Linked DNA regions of Homo sapiens: region 2 is linked to region 1. Evidence: promoter capture Hi-C in 16 types of primary human blood cells and fetal thymus (Javierre and others, 2016). All regions are on one chromosome and are shown on one strand. Each heading gives the region's core, a stretch centred on a gene start or on the middle of the fragment in contact. The rest is flanking DNA. Distances are from core to core; before and after follow the strand shown.

What was found. The method cuts DNA at HindIII sites, captures the fragments that hold promoters and counts their contacts. A CHiCAGO score of 5 or more calls a contact.
Region 2: a fragment that was not itself captured here is called in contact with the fragment with the promoter of CDH16 in region 1 in 2 of 17 cell types (erythroblasts and endothelial precursors); the score reaches 6.5 in erythroblasts.

What each region holds. Positions count from the first base shown.
Region 1 is chr16:66,913,346-66,920,631 of GRCh38, reverse strand. CDH16 (cadherin 16) reads left to right here and starts at 1,747. Exons shown (of 18, transcript NM_004062.4): 1 at 1,747-1,828; 2 at 2,554-2,611; 3 at 2,907-2,990; 4 at 4,203-4,358; 5 at 4,429-4,567; 6 at 5,254-5,412; 7 at 6,220-6,416; 8 at 7,019-7,141. The coding sequence starts at 2,567. The HindIII fragment of the contact is 16,817 bases long and covers 1-3,982 here.
Region 2 is chr16:67,123,974-67,130,812 of GRCh38, reverse strand. It overlaps PHAF1 (phagophore assembly factor 1), which reads right to left. Exons shown (of 16, transcript NM_025187.5): 3 at 4,771-4,854. Among named protein-coding and RNA genes, the nearest start is that of PHAF1, 17 kb to the right of the region's middle. The HindIII fragment of the contact is 632 bases long and covers 943-1,574 here.

The DNA of each region.
Region 1 (7,286 bases), core at 498-2,997:
GCTGGGTGGGAAGTGGCTGAGTGGGGACTGGTATACAGGTCTGCCCATCTCCAAAGCCTGGAGGCAGCCTGGGGCAAGGTGGGGGGCAGTTTCTAAGAAGGTTCTGGGCCAAGGTCCATACATTCCTTCCTTAGTTCAATTTATTCAATTTATTCATTCCACAGACTCCAGGGAGCCCTGGCAACCTGGTTAGAATCCTGATTGCAGCTTATTGAATGGCAGGAGGAGGCTTGAGGGCTGCCCCTCCATGTACAGGGGAGCGCTGAGATTCACCCACGTGCTCCCCAGGGCAGAGGTAACTGCTCAGAGCTGTTGCTGCTCTGCCCCTCCTCCCCACATACTTCAAGGAATGCAGAAGGCATGGTATTTTCAGATCAAGTGAGGGTCCCCAGGCCTTCCTGGCTCTGTCACTTATTGACTGTGTGACCCTAGGCAAACCACTCAGCTTCTCTGTGCCCCAGCATGTGCCCAATGCCCCTTCAGAACGCAGTATGTGGCATAATGAAGGTATGTGCTCAGAGCAGTGCTGGGCACAGAGCAGGAGCTTAACACGTGTGAAACCCCCTTCAACCTCCCCACACTACACTGCTCCAGGCTGGGTGCCAGAGTGACCCTGAAGCAGGCACTCAGCTTGTGACAAGGCTGGGGGCAGCTGGGGGTAGCTTCTGGCCTGAGAGAGACTAATCAGATGTACAGTGGGAAGGACTTCGTGGGGACCATGGGAAGCTCCAAGGCTGGAGAGGGACTGGAGACCTTCTTCCCACCCTCTCCCCTCATTCCAGACTCCCAGGCCCCAGAAGCATCTCCTGGCTCTGCTTGGCTGCCCTCATTGCGGGGAGAGCCCCTGTTCAGCCCTGCAACTCCCTCAAGGTCACCTGAGCCAGTTTAATCTTCTTAGGGGCATGAGACTGCCCACTGTCTCAGCCCTGTCACTGTTGAGTGGCCAGTGTAAGGACTTCGGGAGCTCATAGGCTGCTGCACTCCCCCACCACAGGTCCCCCTGGGGGGGGTGGTCTGGAGCCCCAATACCCACTTCCACTCATGTACTGCTCACCCATCCTTTGCAACCTCCAGCTCCTTGTCTTAGTTCCACAAGCCATGCGGAGCTGCCAGGGCAGAATGAGAGCCAGGTCATTCCTGAGTCCCTGAGTTCTGCTCTCAAAGGGCTCCCAATCTAATGGAAGAGGCAGACAATGACAAGCTGGTGTCCTCTGTGTATTAATAGAGATAGCACATGGCATGGTGTGAGGGGGAGGGGCATTCCCAGAGGAGGCTCCTGAACAAGCCTGGGAACATAGGGGAAGTTTCCTGGAAAAAGGAATATTTGAGCTGAGCACTGAAGCATGCATGAGCAGGTGCTTACCACACAGATGAATGAGTGGGAAGGGTGTTCCATGCAAAAGGAACAGAGTGTGAAAAGGTGTGGCTGCAGACACTGGAGCCTGGGAGATAAGTCAGACCAAGTCTGGAGCCACAGAAAAAGTAACGTCCAGAACCAGAGGGCCAAGGAATACCTCCTGGGCTGTGCTGGGGTCGAGGGAGTGCCAGGCCAACCATCTCCCCACCTCCTGGAGCTGGCAGTCACGGATGCTGAGCAGCTCCTGGCTTTCCAAAGTCAATGAGTAACTTGGGGGGCTGGGCGGGGCCAGGCCTGCTGCTGTGGGCCCAGTGGCCTTTTCCACTCCTGAGCAAGCGTGGCTGAACCCTCCTACCTGCTCAAGTGCCCTGCCTTGCCCCACCCAGCCCAGCCTGGCCAGAGCCCCCTGGAGAAGGAGCTCTCTTCTTGCTTGGCAGCTGGACCAAGGGAGCCAGTCTTGGGCGCTGGAGGGTGAGGGGCTGGGAGTGGAGGGGAGGGCATGGCTGAGGCTGAGGTTGGTGGTGGGGAAAGGAGAAACACTGCCCTGTCCTCGCCATCTGGGAAAGAATTCCCAGGGCCTCATCTTAGAGGGGTTGTCGATTTGTCGCTGCTCTGCCTGCCCAGCTCCATGACAAGGGCTGGAAAATGATGAGACAAGGGCCGGGCTCCTGCTCCGGGGGTTCTCCTTGTCTAGAAGGTGGCAGTGGGAGGCAGGACAGTCCCAGAGGCCCTGAGCTAGGAGGACTCCTCCTGTGGTCAAGTCCTCTGTGACCTTGGCCAGACCCCAGCATTCAGGCCTTGCCTGCAACAAGAGGTGACTTCAGGAAGTGACCCTCCAAGTCTTCAGGAACTTTCCAGCTTCAAACTTTTGTGATTTGGGGGATTGCTAGAAAATTACCACTTTGGGATCTGCGGCCTGGGGAGGCTATGGTGAGAAGGAGCTGGAGGTCTGGAGGTGAAATTCTGATAGAGTGCTTGATGGACCAAGAGCCTAGAAGCAGGGTGGCTGGGCCTGGGGGCCTTGGTGGGCCTGGCCGAGGAGCAGGGCACTACCCTGCAGGAGATGGAGAGCCTCAGCTCCTTTGGAGGGGAGGAAGAGAAGACTAGTCTGCAGTACGATCCCACTAGTTGTGTGTGTGGGATGGAAAGCCCCTCCCTACCCACCTGGGCTGGATCCTCACTGCCGTGTCCCTCAGGCCTGTCCTGACCATGGTCCCTGCCTGGCTGTGGCTGCTTTGTGTCTCCGTCCCCCAGGTGAGCTAGGCCCTGCCCCCTCTCCTTCAGGTCTTGGCTTTGGGGGTTGACACCCTTGCCCCCAACTCCACCTGGACCAATTGCACTGACCGTGAGAACGGTGCAAGGCATGGGAGGGGTCAGAGCTGGGACTATAGAGCCACTGTGGGATGAGGAGGTCAAAGACCAGAGCGCGGGTGGATGGACTAAGGTACAGCCAGGCCCTGGGAAGGGGCGGAAATTCCGCTCTTCTGTTGGGTCTCAGTGCCCACGCAGGAAGATAGAGCCTGGTGACAAGGTGAGAATCCTCCCACAGGCTCTCCCCAAGGCCCAGCCTGCAGAGCTGTCTGTGGAAGTTCCAGAAAACTATGGTGGAAATTTCCCTTTATACCTGACCAAGGTGAGCCGGAGAGCTGGGGTTGGGGCCGGGGGGATCCCTCCCCGCAAAGTCCTGCTTCTCCTTCCTCTGGCACCCTTCCTCTTGCTGTTTCTCTTTGAAATCCTGCTTTCCAGAGAGTATGTACACGTTACACAGGTTGAGTGTCCCCTATCTGAAATGCTTGGGACCAGAAGTGTTTCAGATTTTGGATTTTTTTTTTTCTTCAGATTTTGGAATATTTGCATATATATCATGAGATATCTTGGGGAATGGAACCCAAATCTAGATAGGAAATTCATTTATGTTTCATATACATCTTATACACATAGCCTGAAGGTAACGTTATACATTTTTTTTTCTTTTGAGACGAAGTTTCGCTCTTGTCGCCCAGGCTGGAGTGCAGTAGCATGTTCTCAGCTCACTGCAACTTCCACGTCCTGGGTTCAAGAGATTCTCCTGCCTCAGCCTCCTGAGTAGCTGGGACTACAGGCATGCACCACCACTCCTGGCTAATTTTTTTTTTTTTTTTTTGTATTTTTAGTAGAGACAGGGTTTCGCCATGTTGGCCAGGCTGGTCTTGAACACCTCACCTCAGGTGAGCCGCCCGTCTTGGGCTCCCAAAGTGCTGGGATTACCACTTTGGGATTTGCGAGCTGGGGAGGCTATGGCCAGAAGGAGCTGACAGTACAGAGGTGAAATTCCGACAGAATCCTTGAGTGGCCAAGAGCCCAGTGTGAGTCTGCTCCTGGGCGAATATTTTTAATGATTTTGTGCATGAAACAAAGTTCTGACTATGTGTTGACTGTGACCTGTCACATGAGGTCAGATGCGGCATTCTGTACTTGTCACATCATATTGGCGCTCAAAAAGTTTCAGATTTTGAGTATTTCAGATTTCAGATTTTCGGGTTAGAGATGCTCAACCTGCAGTGGGAATGACTAACAGATTTTAATCCTAGTGGAGAGCAGAGCTTTAGATTAAAGAACGAAATCTCGGTGGTGAGGTTTCAAGCTTCAGAAAGAAGGGCAGAGAGTTTTGGGGAGCATCAGGTCCAGGGAAAAGAGTTCTGGCTCTGAGTCTCAGTCCTGATGCTTACTGGCTGTGTGACCTCTGACAGGAGCCAGATGTCTCTGAGACTCAGTTTCCCCACATGTAAAATGAGGCCATCAGGTGGAGGAGGGGCATCTCCCAGGCCTGGCCACCGCTCCCTTCACTTCTGTTCATTTCCATCAGTTGCCGCTGCCCCGTGAGGGGGCTGAAGGCCAGATCGTGCTGTCAGGGGACTCAGGCAAGGCAACTGAGGGCCCATTTGCTATGGATCCAGATTCTGGCTTCCTGCTGGTGACCAGGGCCCTGGACCGAGAGGAGCAGGCAGAGTACCAGCTACAGGTATGGCTGGGCCAGGTGTAGGGGAGAGCAGGCAAGGCAGAGCCAGACGCTGACTCCCCTTCCCTGCCAGGTCACCCTGGAGATGCAGGATGGACATGTCTTGTGGGGTCCACAGCCTGTGCTTGTGCACGTGAAGGATGAGAATGACCAGGTGCCCCATTTCTCTCAAGCCATCTACAGAGCTCGGCTGAGCCGGGGTACCAGGCCTGGTGAGTGACCAGGGCAGCCAATTTACAGTAAGGTCAGGTGGGCCTTGATGGAACAGCAGAGAGCGAAGAGATGGCCAGACAGTTGGCATAGGACAGGGCAGCCATTTCTGTCCCATTTCTTTTTTCTTTTCTTTTCTCTTTTTTCTTTTCTTTTTTTCTTTTTTTTGAGATGGAGACTCACTGTCACCCAGGTTGGAGTGGAGCGCAATGGCGCGATCTCAGCTCACTGCAACCTCCACCTCCTAGGTTTAAGCAATTCTCCTGCTTCAGCCTCCCAAGAAGCTGGGATTACAGGCACCCGCCACCATGCCCGGCTAATTTTTTTTGTATTTTTAAAAGAGACGGGGTTTCGCCTTGTTGGCCAGGCTGGTCTCGAACTCCTGGCCTCAGGTGGTCTGCCTGCCTCAGCCTCCCAAAGTGCTGGAATTACAGGCATGAGCCACTGCACCTGGCCCATCCTGTACCATTTCTGTCCCACCTTGTTCCTCCCTACTCCACTGAGGGTGCCATCCATTCTTGGCTTCAGTTTGCTCATCTGGGAAGTAGGACGAAAAGCCGTGGCTCATCTCCGGAGTCCTGATGTGATAATGGATAGGGAAGAAAGGACAGAGGAGAAATAGGAGAGGCATGGGAGACTCTCCCCACCCTCTCTATCCCTTACAGTTTGCCCTCCCACCGTGAACCAGGCATCCCCTTCCTCTTCCTTGAGGCTTCAGACCGGGATGAGCCAGGCACAGCCAACTCGGATCTTCGATTCCACATCCTGAGCCAGGCTCCAGCCCAGCCTTCCCCAGACATGTTCCAGCTGGAGCCTCGGCTGGGGGCTCTGGCCCTCAGCCCCAAGGGTAAGCCCGAGCGGGGTGTGCTGGGGAGGGAGGGTCAGAGAAAGCTGGAGAAGGTGGTATCTGAACCATAAGACAAGCATGGGTGGGAGCTTGAGAGGTAAAAAGGGAGGGAAGGGCACTCTAGGTGGAGACAGCAACAAGGCAGGGGGCTGTGGAGGCAGGGCCAGGCATGGAGAGCTAGGAAATGGTGTGAATGGAGGGCCTCAGCTCCACACTCCACGGAGACCTGGGCCTAAGGGACAAAGATAGGAACAGTCTAAGGGGTTGTAGCCTAAGATGCTGCTGGGCAACCTTGCGACTGATGGCGGAAGAGACCTGGACCTGGAAGCTCAGACCAGAGGCATGAACTAGGGTTGGAAAGAAAAGTGAATCAGGCATCATCATAGCCAGCCACGCATTCACCCGTCTACCGCCCAACAACCTACACAGTCCATCCAACCTCCCATCACTCATCCAAACACTCTCCTATTCACACACTCAAACTCCCATCCACCTACCAAGTCAACCACCCATTCATCCAACCAACCCATCATCTGCCATCTACCCATCTCCTCATCCTGGTCATCCACCTACCTCTCTAGTCTATCACGCATTCGTTGTGTGGAGAGATATGGAGGTGGCTTTGCAAACTGTCATGTCCTTGTTGGAGGCTCACAACAGTGCTTAAAGTTCCTCTCTTCCCTTGGCCAAGAGAGTGTCCCAATCACCTGCTGTATGCTTGGTTTTGTGTCTGGTATCTTGCTGAGAATGATGCCCTGGCCCCTGCTCCCTGGCTGCCTGCTCAGCTGACCATCCTCCCTGTTCTAGGGAGCACCAGCCTTGACCACGCCCTGGAGAGGACCTACCAGCTGTTGGTACAGGTCAAGGACATGGGTGACCAGGCCTCAGGCCACCAGGCCACTGCCACCGTGGAAGTCTCCATCATAGAGAGCACCTGGGTGTCCCTAGAGCCTATCCACCTGGCAGAGAATCTCAAAGTCCTATACCCGCACCACATGGCCCAGGTGAGTAAGTGGCTGTCAGTGGCTGAAGCAGCCCCATGGATGGTGCAGCCAGGCCCGAGTCTCATGGATATTTGGGGGCTGGGTCTGGAACCCTCATGACCCGTGCTCCTCCCTCCACTCTTCCCATTACTTCCCACTGTGGACTGGGGTGTTCAAGGCCCTGGACGCAGGCCCACAGCCCCTCGCCTGCTCTGCCATCCTCTAGCAGGCGTGACTCTGTGCTCTGACCTCTTGAACTTGCCCAGGGCTTCCTCAGAGAGAACAGCTGCCATCTCTTGCTGCCATGGGGATTGTCACCCCGGGCCAGGAATGTCTCAGGCCTCTTCTAGGAATGCCCTGGGGTCAGGCCCAGGCTGAGAGGGCAGAAAATAAAGTAACATGGTCACTCAAGCACTTTGGGCAGGGTCCAGGCTTGGATCAGGGCAAGGCCACTAACAACATGTGCCCTGAACAGAAGGATCCCACCTGGACTCCAGGCCCAGGGAGGGCAGCACCTTGCCTGGGTCACACAGTTGGGCTCAGGCTCCTCAACGAGAAATCAGATGGGGCGCAAAGGCTGACATGGATTGTTCCTGCCCCTTGGCCCGGGGTGTCCCCCCCAGGTACACTGGAGTGGGGGTGATGTGCACTATCACCTGGAGAGCCATCCCCCGGGACCCTTTGAAGTGAATGCAGAGGGAAACCTCTACGTGACCAGAGAGCTGGACAGAGAAGCCCAGGCTGAGGTGATATGAAGGGGGAGCCAGGGATGCAGGCTGGGGGTGCTTGGTCAGTGTCCAGTTGGCTTTTGGGGGTGTCACAACTACAACAGAGGCTGAGGCAGTGGGAAAGAGCCCCGAAGAGCTGGAGCTGGCCCACCGGAAGGAAACT
Region 2 (6,839 bases), core at 9-2,508, 210 kb before region 1:
CTGGGTCAGGCTGGAGCACACACCACCCTATAGGACAATGATCTCTTCCACAGACATGAAGCTTGTTAAGGCTCTGCTTTGGGCACTAAGCCCCCTTCCTCCCATCTCATATTTTGCTGCATTTTAAAACCCAGGTCGGGTTGCTTTAGAAAATAGCTTATTTTAGCCGGGCACGGTGGCTCACGCCTATAATCCCAGCACTTTGGGAGGCCCAGGTAGGTGGATCTCCTGAGGTCAGGAGTTCCAGACCAGCCTGACCAACATGGTGAAATCCTGTCTCTACCAAAAATACAAAAATTAGCTGGGCGTGGTGGCACACACCTGTAATCCCAGCTACTGTGGAGGCTGAGGCAGGAGAACCGCTTGAACCCAGGAGTTGGAGGTAGCAGTGAGCTGAGATTGCGCCACTGCACTCCAGCCTGGGTGACAGAGCGAGACTCCGTCTCAAAAAAAAAAAAAAAAAAAAGGCCGGGCACGGTGGCTCACGCCTATAATCCCAGCACTTTGGGAGGCCGAGGCGGGCGGATCACAAGGTCAGGAGATTGAGACCATCCTGGCTAACACGGTGAAACCGTGTCTCTACTGAAAAATACAAAAAATTAGCCAGGCGTGGTGGTGGGCGCCTGTAGTCCCAGCTACTGAGGAGGCTGAGGCAGGAGAATGGCGTGAACCCGGGAGGCAGAGCTTGCAGTGAGCGGAGATTGCGCCACTGCACCCCAGCCTGGGCGACAGAGCGAGACTCCTCCAAAAGAAAGAAAGAAAGAAAGAAAATAGCTTATTTTGAAGTTGATTTTGTTTACAAAACAAAAAGATGGAGGGGGAGGTCTATCCCATTAGAAAGCAAGCCATAATATTTGTCACACAAGTGTGACAGTATTCAGTTATGTCCCTGATGAAGAGGATCTGGTTGAAACAAGAAAGCCTCAGGACCTTTGTGAAGCTTGCTCTTTAATGGGTTCAGCCTCAGATGAAATTCTAAGAACTCAGGGCAGGGCAGAGATAAAGGAATAGGCATCACCTAACACTCCGCCATCAGTGGTGCCAAGTAATAAGCACTATGAAGTCCTCCATGCAATGGTGTCAAGGGCTTGGCAGCCAGCAGCACAGGTAGGGGCTCGGAGCACCATCTACCATCCTCCAGCTGGGAGGTTTTGCTCTCATTGTGGAGACACAAGCAGAGCTGGCTCAATATCTGTTTGTCCTGCCAATCTGAGCCTGATTGTGGAAGAGGCTGTGGGGCATTGTATGCAGGAACATCTGGCACTGCCAAAGAAACTGAGACATAATAGATAGTAGGTTCGCTTTTGGCCAGAGACCCTATCCCTAACTTTATTTAGAGACCACAACACTGAACCAAATTGGATACCTCTTGACTATAATGTAGCTCTTTTGATCCTATCTGCTAGAAAGAACTGCTCCCTCTGCTAGGCCGTCACAGCACTGGAATGAATCCTTTCCTCCATACTTGTGTATTCTGTTAAGTGGTCCAATAAGTTAAGCCCCTTGAGGGACTCATTAATTTGCATAGGGAAGGTGTTCAATTCATGTTAGGCAATTCTGCCTGGTATGAAGCTTGAAAGCATGAAAAGAAGTGCCAGGAGGGGCTGTGGAAGGAAGGGCAGGGGAACAGCTATGATTCAGAAGATAGCCAGTGTCCCCTTCAGAATATCTGGGCATGGGAATATATCATGCCAAACTGGCATGCCATTTCACTGAGGCCAGAGCCTTGTCTAGCAGAGAGCCTCTACCTTCAGCCAGAAGCCCTCCTGTTCATAGCAGGCACAGGCACTCACCTCCCTCACTTCTATCCCTACAGCTGGCCAGTCATCCCCCAAAGCTTCCCACCACCCGCCCTGTGGAAGTGAGCCTGCACGATGTTCCTCCTGTATCACTGGCACCCCACCTGCCAACAGCTATACGGGTCCAACACATATAGGTGCTTCGACCCTGCCTGATCAATGGGAAAACAGTGGACCAGAGCTAATCACAGGGCACGAAGCAGCACTTGTGGCAATGGACCCAGAGTGCTGGCCATCCTGGAGTCCTTCATGTCACTAGGAGCATCAATAAGCAGATTTCATCTCTTGGAGCTTGCTGCACTACAGGGACAAGCAGCTGGGAAGGCTAAAGCCCATGATTTTCCATCTCTGGGCTACAGAAGCTCCTGATTTCCCCAGAGGGGAAGAGATGTGGCAGCAGCCAAGATAAAAATGGAAAAGACAGGTGGCTGTAAAGGTTGTGACTTATAAAGCCTCATTCCACAGGGCTGTCTCTCTTAGGCTTGAGGCAGGGGGTGGGAAGCAACTATAGGAGGCAGCATCAGAAGAGGTGGATTCTGAAGGTGTTGGATGGAAGGGCAGGAAGATAGGTCAGGTCAGGCTGGTGCCAATCAAAAACACCTGGGTGATTACTTGCTCAGTTTCCAGAAGACTCAGGCAGGACCCCAGTCTCTCCTTCATGGGGATCCCACAGAAGGCAGAAGAGGATTGCCGGTTTGATTTTATCTCCTTTCCTATCCAAAGGTACCTCCCATTCCTCATATTTCTGTACATTTCTTCAGCTTTTCTTATTTATTTCCCAGATCCATCAACAGAGCCTAAGTGGTCAGCCACCACATATTGCCAATATCCAGTTAAAAGCCTGGCATCAGGTAGACTACTTATCCTCTCTGTCCCTCGGTTTTCTTGCTAGTAAACAGTACCTACTTCACAGGCGGGTTAGGATTAAACTAGAAAACGCATGTGAAACACCCAGCCATGTGCCTAGCATATACTAAGCACTCACTAAACATATGACATTGTCTTCACCATGCTGTGATTTTATGGGCTGCTGGACATCCCTTTTGTTGCCCATTTAGGTTACTTCCAGCTTCTCATTACCATGAAATACCGTTACCTTCCCCCAGTGTTTCTGGGTTACATTTTCTAAAGTGGACTTTTACCAAGTCAAAGGGAAATGACTACTTGTAAAGAAATTTCCATGTTACCAGATTAATTTCCCCCCAATTTTTTTTTTTTGAGACGGAGTCTTGCTCTGTTGCCCAGGCTGGAGTGCAGTGGTGCGATCTCAGCTCACTGCAAACTCTGCCTCCCGGGTTCACGCCATTCTCCTGCCTCAGCCTCCCAAGTAGCTGGGACTACAGGCGCCTGCCACCATGCCCAGCTAATTTTTTGTATTTTTAGTAGAGACGGGGTTTCACCGTGTTAGCCAGGATGGTCTCGATCTCCTGACCTCGTGATCCACCCGCCTCAGCCTCCCAAAGTGCTGGGATTACAGGCGTGAGCCACTGCACCCGGCTCCAATTTGTGATTATGCGATATTGAAGATCATCCTCTGCCCTTTCCCAGTGTGGAACTTCTGGCCATGGAGACAGGATAGAATGAGGAATTCTAATTCCACATACTGATTCTCTTTCCATGTTTTGTTTTCTCTCCTTAGCAGTTCACTTGTGACAAGGATGATGAGAACTGGTAAGTACCCAAGTCTTTTGGAAAGGCTACTCCATAACCCAAGAAGGACAACAACTCTGGCATGCCACTGCCCAGGGCCCATCCAACCTCATGACTTTGAGGCATGACTCTGGTGTCACATGACTAACCTGTGAGGCCCAGGCATTTGTAAACAGGGTATATCAAAAACAGACTGAACTGGGTGCGGTGGCTCATGCCTGTAATCCCAGCACTTTGGGAGGCCGAGGCGGGCGGATCACGAGGTCAAGAGATCAAGACCAGCCTGGCCAACATGGTGAAACAAAAAATTAGCTGGGCGTAGTGGCACGCACCTGTAGTCCCAGCTACTGAGGAGGCTGAGGCAGGAGAATTGCTTAAACCCGGGAGGCAGAGGTTGCAGTGAGCCAAGATTGCACCACTTCACGCCAGCCTGGGTGACACAGTGAGACTCTGTCTCAAAAAAAAAAAAAAGACTGGGCTGGTCATGGTGGCTCACGCCTGTAATCCCAGCACTTTGGGAGGCTGTGGTGGGCGGATCACAAGGTCAGGAGTTCGAAAACAGCCTGGTCAACATGGTAAAACCCCATCTCTACTAAAAATACAAAAATTTAGCTGGGCGTGGTGGCGTGCACCTGTAGTCCCAGCTACTCAGGAGGCTGAGGCAGAAGAATCGCTTGAACCCAGGAGGTGGCAGTGAGCCAAGATCAAGCCACTGCACTCCAGCCTGGGTGACAGAGCTAGACCTCATCTCAAAAAAAAAAAAAAAAACCAAAAACAAAAACAAAGAAAACCAGACTGGACTCAAACAGGTGTTAGCAAATTGCACTCAAATGCCAATTAAGATAGCCCTACATATTAGTAAGTTGTTTTTTTACATTTCCTCCCCAGGGTTAAAGAATCAACTCATTGCTGGTATTGTTAACCCAAGCCCCAGCATTCTAGGAAGAACAGTTTCCATTTTCTAACCAAGTTACAGTGTTTGACAAAAGAATGAAGTAAAACTATCTTGTTTTCCTACTGGACATGAAAGCCCCCTCCCCACAGCATGTTTCCCAAATCTTCAACACTCTTTCACCTTCCCCTCTGGAGCCTGGGAAAGCAGCCCTTCCCAGCCTCTTTCTGACCATCCCAACCCACTTCCATCTTCCCTCTTTTTAGGGGAACAGGCACAGCTTCAGTTCCCTACATTGTAGTGATCTCTGAACCAAAGAAGTCCACACCTACTTATAAGTTTTGAAACATCTCACAATAGCACATACTAATTAGCTCCAGAAAGACTGGCCCAGCTGGACATGAAACATTAGTTGTCATTTATAGTTACCTTAAGTCTCTGATTGAAAGCATCAAACATTAGTTTGATCCCGTCCTGAGTCAGGTTAAGAATGAGGTCATGGCTTAGAGGAGACTACAAAACAAAAATAAAATACATTCTGAGTAACTGATTTATTCACTAAGCACCTACTGAAAGCCTTACAATACAAATGCAACACACAAGGAATATCTAAGTGCAGACAGTCCCTCTCTCCTCCAGCTAATGGTGCTTGGAAACCAGAAAAAAACTGCTGCATGAACATATGGTGTTTTTTACTTCTAGCCTGCAGCTGCTGTTTCTTAATATCGGCTGAAAAGAGCCTCTCCCTTCTGGGCTTGAGTAAAAATACCTGGGGAAAAGGGACAAAGTTATATGAGTATACAGGTCATTCTCCTTTCAGGCTCCAGGGTCCACATCTGCAAAATGAAGTTCACTGCCATCGAACCTACAGAGCAGTTGGTGAGGAATACAGGTCATGTGAAAAGGCCTAGTCCAGGATCTAAACTCAGCAGATATTGCTTATGCCTATCAGCTGAACCTACATCCATTCACACTCAGGCTGTTTGTACCATCCACAGGGAACACATTTTTATTCTTTGATGGTTTAGATCAAATTCTAGGACAAAGAAATATATTGTGATCTGATTATGAGATGACCCTCTTATCCTTTTTCTCTCTCCCCCCAGCCTCCCATCCCATTTCATTTGTGCTTCTTCCTGAAAAGCCGAAGTCTAAGATCTAAAGAGTCATATTTCTGCATTTGCCCCTTCTGAATCCTGGGGGAGGGGAGTAGCAGAACAAAGCAGTGGACAGAACCCTGGTGACCTTAGGTAACTCTCAAAACTTCTCTGAGCTCTGGTTTCTTCATGGGAATACTTTCATCCCTTCCCTCCAGGGTTGTTATGAGGACAGAGATAGTAGGTCAGAAAGCATCTAGCCCAATACCTGGCACACAGCACTCTCCTCTTGTGTCTGCCCCATCTGCATGCTTCTGGTCCAATGCAATTAATTCAAGGATTCAATGTCTGAAGATTCTCCACAGCCCTGATTGAGGCTGCCCAATAGTAGAAGGAAAAACACCATCTAAAACCCCACCCTTCTTTAACACATGGCTGCTCAAAAGGTTTAGTTACTTTTTTTTTTTTTTTTTGGATGAAGTCTCTCTCTGTTGCCCAGGCTGGAGTGCGGTGGCACAATCTTGGCTCACTGCAACCTCCACCTCCTGGGTTCACACCATTCTCCTGCCTCAGCCTCCCGAGTAGCTGGGACTACAGGCGCCCGCCACCACGCCCGGCTGACTTTTTGTATTTTTAGTACAGATGGGGTTTCACCGTGTTAGCCAGGATGGTCTTGATCTCCTGACCTCGTGATCCATCTCCTGACCTCGTGATCCATCTGCCTCAGCCTCCCAAAGTGGTGGGATTACAGGCGTGAGCCACTGTGCTCGGCCAAAGGTTTAGTTTCTTTATAGAGCTTCTCAAGTTAGACAAAGTGAATGATGGAGATATGGCTATCAGAGACAGACATAGGCTGGAAGGCCATAAGCCACTGCTGGTGTTGGCCTCATTGGAGAAATTCTCTCCTAAGAGTCTTTTGGGATTAGGGCAGGTTGCTTCCTTCCAACCCATTGATCCCCACAAAGCAGCAGGCCCAGATAGTACCATCATGCTTGGCAAAAACTAAAGGAAGAATGTTGTATTTGCTAGTAGGTCTATATGAATGTCTAAACCATTAGGTCTCAAGCAAGATAATGGAACAATGAACTATGACCTTGGATTACCAGTATCAACCCAGAACACAAAGTTCCATTTTGGAGAGAGCCATTCCATGGAATAAGCAGAGTGAAGCAACATTTTAGTCTCTTTCAGGAATCTTGCTTGGAGGAGGCATGTGCCAGGATCTGGATTTTCCTATACTTTCCCAAGATCTGATCTTTTTTTTTTTTCCTGGCATTGTTATAATTCAGGATATAACCTAGCAATTTTCAAAAGCAATCAAATTACTCTCAGAGTCAATGTTTTATTAATACTTTATATCTCTAAAACCAAAATACACATGCACTATGTGGTATTTAAGCA